Regions from separate parts of the Homo sapiens genome. Here region 2 is linked to region 1. The links are contacts of gene promoters, found by promoter capture Hi-C in blood cells and fetal thymus (Javierre and others, 2016). All regions are on one chromosome and are shown on one strand. Each heading gives the region's core, a stretch centred on a gene start or on the middle of the fragment in contact. The rest is flanking DNA. Distances are from core to core; before and after follow the strand shown.

Region 1 (7,097 bases), core at 3,020-5,519:
ATTAGAGACAAAAAACACATGATCACCCCAATAGATGCAAAAGACCATTTGAACAAATTCAGCATTCATTCATGATTAAAACTCTCAAGAAAATAGACATAGAAGAGACGCACCTCATCACGATAAAGGCCATATGCAACAAGCCCACAGCTGATGCCATACTCAGTGGTGAAAAGCTGAAAGCTCTTTCTCTAAGATCAAAAACAAGGCAAGGATGCCCACTCTTGTCACTTCTATTTAACGTGGTGCTGGAAGTTCTAGCCAGAGCAATTAGGCAAGAAAAAGAAATAAAAGGTACTGAATAGAAAAGAAAGAAGTGAGACTGTCTCTGCTGATGATGTGATCTTATATAGAGATCTCATTATCTTATCTTTGACATGTAAGTCTAGGGTTCACCCCTAGTTAATTTTTGTGCATGGTGTCTCGATGGTAGGTGAGATTGGCTATCTTATCCTGTGATTTTTGGCCATTGGACATCTTATCCTATAATTGCGTATTTCCATCTCTTTTATTCGTTTCTTTTTATGTTTTCTTTATAAATTCTGAATTTGAATCTTTTGTTACATACTGTGGGTGAAGGTCATCAATGCTGGTTCAGAAACCAACAGAAGTCAACATGTCAATGGCTTAAGCCCACAAGGCCTTCCCCACTCCTCACATTGCCATCCAAGCATGCTGCGCCCCTACCTTGTGGACCCACTCTCTGGCACGTGAGCCTCCAAGATAGCCCGGCAAGGAAGAGAGGCAGCAGGGCTCCCACAACCTGTGGCGTGGAAGTGGCAGACATCTCTCCATGCACGTTTAACCAATAGAAACTCATCATGTGGCCCTAACTAACTGCAGGTGGCTGGAACCTGCCAGCCCACGTGCCCAGGAGGGAGACAGTGAGCCCGCAGTCTCCCCGTGATGCCCCACAGGTGGCTTCTCTGGGATGGGATTGGTGGAAACTTTGATTGTGTGCTTATGCTTTTGTGTGCATTTTGCTGCATTCAAGATTGTCAGTATTTTCTCTAATGATTTGTGCCTTTTGCATTTTTTGTGAGATATTGGTTCTTTCACCAGGGATGGCGGTAGGCATTGTTGACCAGGGCAAATGGTGAATGTCCAGGTGACAAAGGGCAGTTTCAGCCACCGTCAGCTTCTGTGGTGCGGCTGAGAATGGCCCCTTGGAGGAGGCTGCTTCTCTCTGCTCAGCCACCCTGGCACGCCCTTCCTCTTGCAGGAGGTTCTGAAGTTCCACCTGTTGCCCTTGGAAGGGAACTTGATGTTTCTGCCCCACAGCACACCTCCCCTGAAGTTCACACCCGGGGCGTGGGGGGCGTGTTTCCCCAGAGGCTCACATGCCTGGATGCTTGCTGGGGCCATGCCTAGGGGAGGAGCCGAGTCTGGGATCCGCAGAGGAGGACGTGCTTCTCTGAGCAAGGCCCCTCCATCTTGCCGTCTGTGGGATTCAGGTGCCTGTAGTTGGGGGACTCACCACAGGGTCCCCTTGGTGCCTCCTGGAGAACCAGAGGGGAGCCAGTGACGCAAAGCCTGGGATGCTGACTTAGGGTGTAGCCCTGGTGCCAGAGAGAAGCCTGGCTCATTTCTTCTGCACAGGGGCCGGGGTAGGGGCAGAGGAGTGCCAGGTGGGACATGTGGGGGCTTATTCCTTGCCAGCTGGTGCTCCAGCCCCACGCCAGAGTTTCAGGCCACAGCCTCTGTGGCCACCACAGGGGAGGGACAGCTCGTTGCAGGCGCAGGTCGGCTCTGCTCCTCATGAAACCTACGATGGCCTGGCCTCACCCAGCCTCCTTCTCTGTCTCCACCCCCTCTGGAGCAGGAGTCAAAGGAAGCACTACCAGAAATGCACCCAGCACTGTCCTAGGACAGCATTGTCATTGCTTGGGAAGGGCAGCTTGGGGTCTGTGTCAGGGTCCCCAAGACGGCGATTCTCCAGGAGGACACAGGCCACACAGGTTGTGGTATTCACAGCTGTGATTTCCCACAGGGAGGACACTGAGCAAAATCAACCAAGGGAAAGGTTCCTGGGGCCGAGTCCAGGGGCACCAGGCTCAGCTTTGGAGGCCTCTCCTGGGGTGGGGGTCACGCAGGACGCGCCTCACTCCTCTGCAAGCAGCTGGGACGCTGCGTGTGCGATGTTGGGGATGCCCTGCCCGGTGATGTACCCGGGGACTGGTCACGTGAGCAGCTTCTGCCTGGGCTACGCCAGAATTCCAGACTCCCAGCAGGGATGTGGGTGTTCGGCCTAAACCACATGGTACAAACAGCTCAGGCCCAGTGAGGCGGGGCCGGGGGGAGCCCCTCGGAAATCCCAGTTCCCAGACGCCAGCCAAGGGCCAGCCCGGCCAGCGGGCCTCAGGATGGCCGTCCCCGCCCACCGTGTGGACCCATTCTGCACACGGCCATGGGGTTTCCTTTCTGGAGCCAGGGGCTGGACACAACCCAGTTTCTGGGGAGGCCCCAAAGCAGCCCCACCCAGGGCAGGCGCTGCTGTTGGATCCCTCACCTCTCCCATCCCTCAGTCCTGCCTACCCCTCGGACATCCGTGTGGTGAGGCTGGTGCAGGGCTGCCAGGACGCCTGGGAAGGACAGGGACCTCGTGGCGTGGGAGCAGCCCAGGACCACCCGCGGGTGGGGGGCATCAGGCAGGGGTCTTTGGTTGTGAACAACAAGAATGAATTCCAGTTGTACTTTTTAGGAAAGGAGTTTATTAGAAGGGTCTGACCTGCTCCCGTGGTCAGGGAAGACAGAGAAAGAGGCCCAGGCCCACAGCAGGGGAGGAGCAGGGCTCGCCACTGAGCTGGGACAGTGACGAGAAACCCAGTTGGTACCTGTCTACCCTCATTTCTCCCCACACCGGGCTATGGCCTGGGAGCACCCGCTGGCCTTGCTGGGGTCACTGCCCACCTGTTGCTGGGGAAGCAGGGCTGGGTAATTGGGGGAAAGTCAAGACTTGGAGAAACAGCTGAGCTGCTTCTAGGAGGAGAAGCGCACACTGGATGGCCAGCTGACCACTGACGTCCACTGCAGGGCTTAGGAGCGGGATGTGGAGAGCCGTCAAGGGTAAAGAATCCAGGGGTGCAGGTGGCAGTGAGCACTCAGGCTTTGGATGATCTTAAGGAGATCACTCAGCAGCTGGACTTCTGGGTTGAGGTGGGGCCACAGCAGGCCGGGCGGGAGCATGCGGGGCGGCAAAGGAGAGACACACAGGAGGCTGGGCGGCAGCAGCTGGCCTGGCAGGAGGAGGTGGGGGCGCAGCAGGAGGGGACGGGCACGCAGCAGGCGGGCCTGCACACGGGGCGGCAGAGGAGGGACACGGAGGAGGAGGGTCTGCAGCAGGAGGTGGTGCAGCAAGCCGGCTGGCAGCTAGACTGCTGGCAGCATGAAGTGGAAGCCCCAGAGCAGACGGGCACACAGCACACAGGCTTACAGCAGACGGGCACGCAGCAGCCCTGCTGGCTTTGGGAGGAGGTGCAGCAAGCTGGCTGGCAGCATGAACCGGAATCATCAGAGCAGGTGGGCACACAGCAGACGGGCTTGCAGCAGACAGGCACACAGCAGGCCTGCTGGCAAGGGGAGGAGGTGCAGCAAGCCGGCTTGCAGCTAGACTGCTGGCAGCACGAGGGCGTGCAGGAGCTGATGCAGCCTGATTGGCAGGGGCTGGGCTCACAGACCGCCTGGCAGCAGGGACTGGACACACAGCTCACACAGCTAGACTGCTGGCAGCACGAAGAGGAAATCCCAGAGCAGACAGGCTTGCAGCAGATGGGCACACAGCAGGCCTGCTGGCAGGGGGAGGAGGTGCAGCAAGCTGACTGGCAGCTAGACTGCTGGCAGCATGAAGAATCCCCACTGCAGACAGGCACACAGTACACAGGCTTGCAGCAGACAGTCTTGCAGCAGACGGGCACGCAGCAGGCCTGCTGGCAGGGGGAGGAGGCACAGCAAGCCAGCTGGCAGCTAGACTGCTGGCAGCACGAGGGCGTGCAGGAGCTGGTGCAGCCTGATTGGCAGGGGCTGGGCTCACAGGTCACTCGGCAGCAGGGGCTGGACACATAGCTCACTGGGGTGCAGACCAGGCTCAGGCAGGGGGCCGGGGCGCAGCAGGGGGGCTCGCAGCAGCTCTCTGGGCAGTCGTCCACCTGCCAGGAGTCGGAGCAAGAGTCACAGGAACCAGGAAGGCAGACGCGGCTGCCGTAGCTCAGGTCGCTGGAGCAGACAGACATAGTGGACGCAGCCATGCTGGGGATTGAACTGGAGGAGATGGGAGTGAGTGGGTGAGTGAGTGAATGAGTGAGTGAGTCCGTGTGTTAGGTGCTCAGGGATGTTGGCTTTTATATGTCTCCCTGGTCTGTTGTCCCAGCTGGAGTGTCAACAACTCCTGCCCCTTCCTTGTTTGTGTTTAAAACCTAGAGAACGCTTATTAGTGCGAGTTTCATGTTTAGTCCTATGAGATGCCGTTCAGTTTGTAAAGTCCTGAGTCTATATTTGGTTCCGTTGACGCACCCTCACCTACCTTTGGCTCCAGAGCATAATATTGAAGTAGACAGGGTGTAATGTCTGCAAATAGAGTGTCCCAGGGGCCTGTGCTGGCTGCAGGAGAGATCCATCCATCCTAATCCCAGCGCCTGTGGGCCATCGCCAGGGGACTCTGCTTGTCTGGGTGGCTGTGGCTTCTGGAATGCCAGGCTAGAGAAGCCCCTGTCAATGATGGCATGAGGGTGGAACATTCCTAGAAGTGACTCCCCACACTCTCTCTGGTGCATAAAGTCCCCCCAAGGGCTTTAGAGCAAGTGGCAAACGGGAAAGGGTGGACAGTGGTGTGAGCCATTTCCCGTCAGGTTCACAGTAGTTCCTGGGGGGCCGTGCACCCCCTCTTCCATCTGGGCACTTAGGGAGGCCCCAGATCCCTGTTTGGGGCCCCCATTTCCATTTGGTTTTATCCCAAGCACTGCAAACCTGTAAGTCTAACCCAGAACACCTCCTCCGCAAAAAGCACAGCCACTCTCAACAGCACTGCCGTGTGAAAAGCAGCAAGCACTGCTTTCGCTTGCAGTGTGTTTTCTTGATTGCCAGCTAAGTCCTTGGTCACCCCAGCTAGACATCTGATCTAAGTCTCCATTTCTTCTGCAAATAATATCCAATTGGCCACCACATCTTTTTGGTTGTTTCTGCTAAATGTTTCCAATTGTATCCGATACTTTTACTTCTCAAGCATTCATTTATTCATGATGCAGTGAGTCCTCCCACATGCTGGAAATTGCACCAGGTGCTGAGAATGTGAAAGTGAAGGGGTAGTAACCCTGACTGTGGACCCCACCAGGGAGGGAGGTGGGCTGCTTGGTGCCTGGTGATGTCAGTGATGACCAGCCATAGCCCAGCATGCATGCGGCCCTGAGAAGTGGCCCCTACCCAGGGGAGAGGGCTCCAGGGGCCCTTCTGGTGGGGTTTGATGCCCAGGCAAGTCTCAGAGGCTCAGGGTGTCCTGTGTCTCTATCTGTGTTTCCCAGTCCAGGCCTCTTAACTCCTAGGGGATTTAGGAAAAGTACAAAAGGCCTCAGAGGGCTAGAAATTCAGTTACACGGTGGGATGAATTGTCTTTCTGTATATTTTGAACTATAAAAATAATATAAATTTGAGCATGGCCTGGTCCCTCCAGAGGTACAGGATCTGGTCCTATGGGATGGAAGGAGAGAGAGAGAGAGAGAGAGAGAGAGAGAGAGAGAGAAAATGGGGGCCTCTGCTTCCATATGGGACAAAGTAGCTATGTCAGACATATACTCCTGCTGAGAACAACTTGAAAAGCTGAACAAAATGTTTTAAAAATGATTCCTTTAAAGCTCTCCTAAAAGAGCTGTTGAAGAAACTAAAGGTAATAGAATGACATCTTTAAAGAGCTGAAAGAAAATCACTGCAAACCTAGAATTCTAGACCAGGAAGAACATTGTTCAAAGGTGAAATATGAAACAAAACAATTCTGGATAACAACTGAGCAAACTGAACACGAGCAGACCTACTCTACAGTAACTATGAAAGGGGATTTTTTTAGGCAGGATGACGGAAGGATAAAAATGCAGGAAGGAACCAGGAGGATCTGAAAGGGTAATATTATTATATTTATAATCTCTTGTGGGGTCTAAACTAGAAGTAGAAAAGTAATGCATGATGACATTAACAATAAAAGGTGAGAAGGATAAATGGAGTGAAAGTTTTCTAAGGTTTCAGCATTGTTTTGGAAGCGGCGGAAGTGCTGACATATGTTACACTTGAATAATCTAAGAATGTGTGCTATAATCTCTAAAGTGACCACGGAAGAGATAGTAAAAACTATGTATAATCAATGTATAATCAATAATGTTAGAAATAAGGCTCAGAGTCGTAAGGAAAAACGAGCACTGAGACAAAGGATTTCTCAGCAAAGCAAATGTATGTCTGTGCAGGAGGGTGTCTCCCATATGGCTGGTTGCCACGAGAGCACACAGAACAAAGGAGAGTAGAAGTTTTTATTCCTAACGTGATCCTGCCCCTGTGTCCTTTCCCCATTGGCTGGGATTGCGCCGCACAATTTAAACTAGACCCGATTGGCTAAACATTTAAACTTTCTTAGATAAAATGGATGCATAATGGGAGAGACGGGAGAGGAGGAAGGGGTCATCTACGGGAAACTAGAGAGCCAGTCTTTTCCTAAATACAGAACGGAATGCGAGCTGGTGCTGATAATGCTAGTGATGTTGCGGCATGCCTGGGCATGTAGTAAAGTCAGAAAGAAGAAAAGGAGAAGAAAGAGAGGGGGCGGGGGTACTAGGAATTAAAGAACAAAAGGTTGAGCAGCCTGTTTGAAGAGAAGCCTTGCCTTATCTCACGAATAATGAATAGAACAGAAGAGGGAAAATAAATAATAAAAAATACTTGATTAATCCAAAATAGACAGGAAGTGATTTTTAAAAGAAACGTTAAAAAATTGGGACAAATAGAAATTGTACAGTCAGATGGCAGATAGATATAAACTAAATCATCAGTCAATAAAGTATCAGATATTCCAATTAAAATATATTGTTGGTCTGAATAAAAAGTAGAAAACCTAACTACATGCT
Region 2 (6,347 bases), core at 1,412-3,911, 95 kb after region 1:
CAGGGAACATGGAGGGTGGGTCTGTATGTACGAGAAAGTGATGGTTCCAGACCGACACGCTCCGTGGAGCCACAGGAGGTTGCGTGGGCACCACATTTTGGACAGTGGGCACTGAGAATCCACAACCATCCTGACCAGTGTGGGGCGTCCTCTGGGGTGGAATTCCGGTCTGTGAATAAACCTGCAATCGAATCCGTATTACCCAGATCCCAGAGCCAGGGGCCATGGGTCAAGCTTGGAGCTGGAATCTGGCCCATTCCCATCCTGGGATGGAGCAGGCGGCTTTCCCAGGTTTCCTCGGGTTTCATGCACTCCTATTTCATTCGGTAACAATTCACCTGCCCCTCCTGGGCACTGGGCTCTAATCTCAGCTTGAGACACACAACAACACATACCTTTAGACCCTTCGAGGGGAAGAGTCTCCAAGATGAACTGCTCTGTGGAAAGGGCTGGGTGAGGTGCAGTGAAATCTTGTGTCCCCAGTGCGGAGGAGCGAGCCGGGCTGCTGTGTGCCGCTCAGCTGTGCGTGCCCACGGACGTGCAGAGAAGACTCGGGAAGGGAGTGCCCTCTCCGTCAGCAGTCACCCTAGGACCGGGAGGGCTGCAGGGGTATGTAGACAGGCCAGGAAGGACTTTCCCTATTTGCCCTGTTACTTCTGAACTCCTGGCTTTACAAAGGATGACAATGTTAACTTACTAATATCTTACTTATATGATTTTTAAAAATTAAAAAAAGAACACTCATAATAAAGAAAAAGAGCCAGCGGCGGTGTCTGCTGGGGGCACTGGGGATTCCGGGGTGACCTGCCTGTGGGCTCCGTGGCCCCTGCGTGGCCTGGCAGCCATGGCAGGAGAAACAGGCACGGGGCGGCGGTGGCAGTTGTGTGTCCCCAGCACGAATCCACGCCATCCAATGTCAACGCCGAGAACAAAACAAACATTAGGCTTTTTAGAACAACATTTAGAATAAGACAAGTTGGAGAATGAATTGTGATTAAAAATTAGTCATGGACATGATGCCCAGTCTAGAAACAGATGAGGCAGACGCCTCGGGATTTGAAAGCTGCGGGAACTGACAGAACACAGCTACACACTCGCGACTTATGGCCCTGTCACCACTGGACAGTGGTATGGACAGTTTATGAACTAAATTATGAAACACAGAAAGTACTTACCAATTAATTAAGGTAATGTTTAATAATTACCATCAAAACAGCACACACAAGTCAAACTCCTAGCCCTTCTACCCAGCATGGGGAATTCCCTACACTTCCCGGAGACGTGATGTGGCCTCACCAAGTCCAAAACCCTATTCAAGGGCGCTGAGGGGTTTTGTGGCTTCTGTGTGTAACCTTGGCTCTGACTGCCTTCAAATGGTCGCTTGTGTTTGCTTTTTAGATTCAGTAGTTCTATTAAATCCACAGATATGTGCAGCCATGGCTGCAGACAACTCTGGAACATTCTCATCCCCTCACAAGGAGCCCCCCACACCCTTTTCCAGCCCCTCCCTCCCAACTGGGCACCCCCGGGCCCACTTCCTGTCTCTGTGATTTCCCGTTCTGGACACTGCACAGAAATGGACTCGTAGAGCCGTGGCCTCTGTACCTGGCTTTTTCTCGCAGCACCGTGTCCTCCGGGTTGGTGGTGTGGCCGCGCGGCTCAGAGCATCCCCCTTCTCATGGCTGAGTCACACTTCATCCGTCCATTTGTCCGATGATGGGCATTTGCCAGAGGGCGTGATTCTGAAGAATAACATCTGTCCTACAGCGAGTGTGACCCAGGGCTGCTTTGGAGGCAGAATCGGGCACTAGATGCCTTATTTTGTGGTGAAACCGAAGCCGGCTTCTGATGTGAGCCTCGGTGCAGCCGGACAGGATCTTCCACCACTGGTACATCCGACGTGGCCGCTTGTCTTCCTCGGGTCTGGGTTTCAGAGCTCAGATCCGACTGAGGAGTAACCCCGCGGATTCACACTGACCCGGGGCCCGCGGCCGTGCCTCCAGACCAGAGCATGTGATCACAGGCGTCCTCGTCCTCCTCCCAGCGAGCTGGCACGGGCTGCATGGGAACCAAATCATAACCCACCATTAATGGAGGTGGCTCCAGATGTCACCCTGACTGACCGAAGGAGTGAGGAGCCCAAGGCCCCATGGGCTCTGCCCGCCCTGCCTGTCACTGGACACCTCTGTGATCCCTCCCTCTCCCAAGGCCCTGTCTGAGCCCCTGCTGCAGGCCGGCCCCACAACTGCCTGCAGGGAAGCACCGGGATGAGGCCCCTCTGCTGCCTGAACTGGCCACAGCCCTGAGGCTGCTGAATACAGAGGCACCCGCCTGGCCTGCATGTCAGCAGGACGCCTGCGTGTGCATGGCTTCGACCTCCATTTCCTCATCTTGAGATGTGGGGCTGACGCTGACAGCTCGGCAGGTGGGCTCCTGGGGAGGAAAGGATCCAGGGGAGCCGCTCCTCAGACCCCTCAAACCGAGCCATCCCCAAGCACAGATGCATCCTTGGTAAATTCAGGTGAGACTCCTAAGACAGGACACAGCAAATTTGTTTGCAACAAGAAACAGCTTCTGCTTCTAGGAGAACATCTGTGAACGAGCAGGTCCTGCAGGTCCTGTAGGCACCTCCTGGAGTGACCTCACGGCCGCTGACCTCACAGCTGAAGACACAATGCTGAGAGAAGAAACCAGGCACAGAGGCCACAGCACTGTGACGCCATTTCTGCACAGTGTCCAGAGCGGGAAACCAAGCTCCTGCCTCCAGCAGGCACCAGCAGCCTGAGACTTTTTCTCTGATTGTTTCAACCTCTTAAAAGTGGACTTTTGTACCCCGGTGTTCATAGCAGCAGCATTCACAGTAGCCACATGGAGGAAATTCCCCAAGTGTCTGTCAGCGGATGGACAAACACAACGTGTCCATTCACACAGCGGAGCGTTACTCGGCCTTAGAAAGGAAGGCGATTCTGACACACAGTGCGACACGGATGAACCTTGAGTCACTGGAGTCTCAGCTAAGGCAGACACAAAGGACAAATACCGTGCGATTCCATTCATATGAGGTCCCTAGAGTGGTCAAATTCATAGAGACAGAAAGTGGCGTGGTGGGTGCCGGGGCTGGGGGGGGGGGGGGGGGGAGGGGGGAGGGGGTGATGTTTACTGGGTGCAGAGCTTCGGTTTTGCAGGATGAAGGCGTTCTGGAGGTGGATGGTGGGGGCGGCCACACAGCAGTATGAATGTGCTTAATGCCCCTGATCTGTGCACCTAAAGATGGTTGAGGTGGGAAATGTTATGTTATATGTATTTTACCATAATTTAAAATTTGAGGCCAGGCATGGTGGCTCATGCCTGTAATCCCAGCACTTTGGGAGGCTGAGGTGGGCAGATCACTTGAGGTCAGGAGTTCAAGACCAGCCTGGACAACATGGTGAAACCCTGTCTGTACTACAAATACAAAAATTAGCCGGGCGTGGTGCCGCACACTTGTAATCCCAGCTACTCGGGAGGCTGAGGCAGGAGAATCGCTTGAATCCGAGAGGCAGAGGTTGCCGTGAGCCGAGATCTCGCCACTGCACTCCAGCCTGGGTGACAGAATGAGACTCCATCTCAAAAATAAAATAAAATAAAATTTGAAATTTTTTTTAAGCAAACAACTAATTTACATTTTCCTGGAATAGACCAACACATATGTGACTGTGAGAAAATCACTCCCCACTTTGGCCCCGGCTCCTCCTCTATAAATTTTGGAGGTAGCTTCTGGCCAATCCCCCAGTTCCCTGGCGATGTCTGTTGTGTCCTAATATCCACCCACTTGTTCCTGCAGTGCTCTGGACTGGGAGTTTTTCTCGGTGGGAGAAGATTATTTCCTGGTGGTGGCCAACTCCTTCGATGGGCGTACCTTCTCGGTGAACAGTATTATTTACAGGTAATGAGCTGCCGAGGCCGGCCTCCTCCCAGAGCCTTGCTTCCCCACTGTGGGCTCACCGAGGCCGGCCTCCTCCAAGAGACTTGCTTCCCCACTGTGGGCTCACCGAGGCCGGCCTCCTCCAAGAGACTTGCTTCCCCACTGTGGGCTCACCGAGGCCGGCCTCCTCCAAGAGACTTGCTTCCCCACTGTGGGCTCACCGAGGCCGGCCTCCTCCAAGAGACTTGCTTCCCCACTGTGGGCTCACCGAGGCCGGCCTCCTCCCAGAGCCTTGCTTCCCCACTGTGGGCTCACCGAGGCCGGCCTCCTCCAAGAGCCTTGCTTCCCCACTGTGGGCTCACTGAGGCCAGCTTCCTCCCAGAGCCTTGCTTCCCCCGAGGGCTCACCGAGGCCAGCTTCCTCCAAGAGACTTGCTTCCCCCGAGGGCTCACCGAGGCCAGCTTCCTCCCAGTGCCTTGCTTCCCCCTAAGGGCTCACCGAGGCCGGCTTCCTCCCAGAGCCCTGCTTCCCCCTGAGGGCTCACCGAGGCCAGCTACCCCCCGAGGGCTCACCGAGGCCGGCTTCCTCCCAGAGTCTTGCTTCCCCACTGTGGGCTCACCAAGGCCGGCCTCCTCCAAGAGACTTGCTTCCCCACTGTGGGCTCACTGAGGCCGGCTTCCTCCCAGAGCCTTGCTTCCCCACTGTGGGCTCACCAAGGCCAGCTTCCCCCCAAGGGCTCACCGAGGCCAACTTCCTCCCAGAGCCTTGCTTCCTGCTGAGGGCTCACCGAGGCCGGCTTCCTCCCAGAGCCTTGCTTCCCCGCCGAGGGCTCACCAACTCCGGCCTCCTCCCAGAGCCTTGCTTCCCGCCGAGGGCTCACCGAGGCCAGCTTCCTCCCAGCACATTGCTTCCCCCCTGTGGGCTCACCAAGGCCGGCTTCCCCCCAAGGGCTCACCAAGGCCGGCCTCCTCCCAGCGCCTTGCTTCCCCCCGAGGGCTCACCGAGGCCAGCTTCCTCCCAGAGCCTTGCTTCCCCCCGAGGGCTCACCAACTCCGGCCTCCTCCCAGAGCCTTGCTTCCCGCCGAGGGCTCACCGAGGCCGGCTTCCTCCCAGAGCCTTGCTTCCCCGCTGTGGGCTCACCAAGGCCGGCTTCCCCCCAAGGGCTCACCAAGGCCGGCCTCCTCCCAGCGCCTTGCTTCCCCCTGAGGGCTCACCGAGGCCAGCTTCCTCCCAGCACATTGCTTCCCCACTGTGGGCTCACCAAGGCCGGCTTCCCCCCAAGGGCTCACCAAGGCCGGCCTCCTCCCAGAGCCTTTCTTCCCCCCGAGGGCTCACCGAGGCCGGCTTCCTCCCAGAGCCTTGCTTCCCCCCGAGGGCTCACCAACTCCGGCCTCCTCCCAGAGCCTTGCTTCCCGCCGAGGGCTCACCGAGGCCGGCTTCCTCCCAGAGCCTTGCTTCCCCCCGAGGGCTCACCAAGGCCGGCCTCCTCCCAGAGCCTTGCTTCCCCCCGAGGGCTCACCGAGGCCAGCTTCCTCCCAGCACACTGCTTCCCCCCGTGGGCTCACCAAGGCCGGCCTCCTCCCAGCGCCTTGCTTCCCCCCTGTGGGCTCACCAAGGCCGGCTTCCACCCAAGGGCTCACCGAGGCCGGCCTCCTCCCAGAGCCTTGCTTCCCCCCGAGGACTCACCGAGGCCGGCCTCCTCCCAGAGTCTTGCTTCCCCCTGAGGGCTCACCGAGGCCAGCTTCCTCCCAGAGCCTTGCTTCCCCCCGAGGGCTCACCGAGGCCGGCTTCCTCCCAGCACCTTGCTTCCCCACTGTGGGCTCACCGAGGCCAGCTTCCTCCCAGAGCCTTGCTTCCCCGAGGGCTCACTGAGGCCAGCTTCCTCCCAGCGCCTTACTTCCCCGAGGGCTCACCGAGGCCGGCCTCCTCCCAGAGCCTTGCTTCCCCCCAAGGGCTCACCGAGGCCGGCCTCCTCCCAGAGCCTTGCTTCCCCCCGGGGGCTCACCTTCTCTCGCAGGTGCCACCGGCTCACAGCGAGTCCCAAGTCAGGTGTCATTTCCGAGATTGGCTGGGCCCAGTGGATGGCCCGGCGCTGGCTGCACCCGTGTGGGATCTGAGCTGGGGCCCTGCCCCGGGTGTAGCCACAACCCACGAGTGCTGGTGCTTCTGCCTTTGGATTCTGTCAGGGATGCGGCGTGTGGACATCCTAACATGGGAGTTGTTGATATTTAATTTTTCTCTCATAGACACTGTGGTGTTCTCATTTATTTCCAGGAGTTTTCCAAGTATCGTACGTTTAACGAATGGGGTTGGCTTTTTAACTTTCATTTGCAGCTGCTCATCATGACAATCATTTTCTCGCCCCCTAACCAATCAGTTCTAATAGCTTTTCTTAAAAAGATTCTCAGGGGACTTAGGAATGTAATTACCTCTGAGAATAAAG

What was found. The method cuts DNA at HindIII sites, captures the fragments that hold promoters and counts their contacts. A CHiCAGO score of 5 or more calls a contact.
Region 2: the fragment with the promoter of TSPEAR-AS1 here is called in contact with the fragment with the promoter of KRTAP10-7 in region 1 in 8 of 17 cell types (naive CD8 T cells, total CD4 T cells, non-activated CD4 T cells and 5 more); the score reaches 13.7 in naive CD8 T cells.

Annotation. Positions count from the first base shown.
Region 1 is chr21:44,597,769-44,604,865 of GRCh38, reverse strand. KRTAP10-7 (keratin associated protein 10-7) reads right to left here and starts at 4,269. Exons shown (of 1, transcript NM_198689.3): 1 at 2,692-4,269. The coding sequence starts at 4,244. The coding sequence ends at 3,132. All of the region lies in intron 1 of TSPEAR (thrombospondin type laminin G domain and EAR repeats), which reads left to right. RefSeq lists enhancers at 1,066-1,920, 1,921-2,777, 2,876-3,635, 3,636-4,385, 5,146-5,902. The HindIII fragment of the contact is 9,535 bases long and covers 1-7,097 here.
Region 2 is chr21:44,502,358-44,508,704 of GRCh38, reverse strand. TSPEAR-AS1 (TSPEAR antisense RNA 1) reads right to left here and starts at 2,661. Exons shown (of 7, transcript NR_103707.1): 1 at 2,377-2,661; 2 at 1,606-2,058; 3 at 396-668. It overlaps TSPEAR (thrombospondin type laminin G domain and EAR repeats), which reads left to right. Exons shown (of 12, transcript NM_144991.3): 11 at 3,824-3,925. RefSeq lists enhancers at 1-318, 5,024-5,543. The HindIII fragment of the contact is 6,455 bases long and covers 237-6,347 here.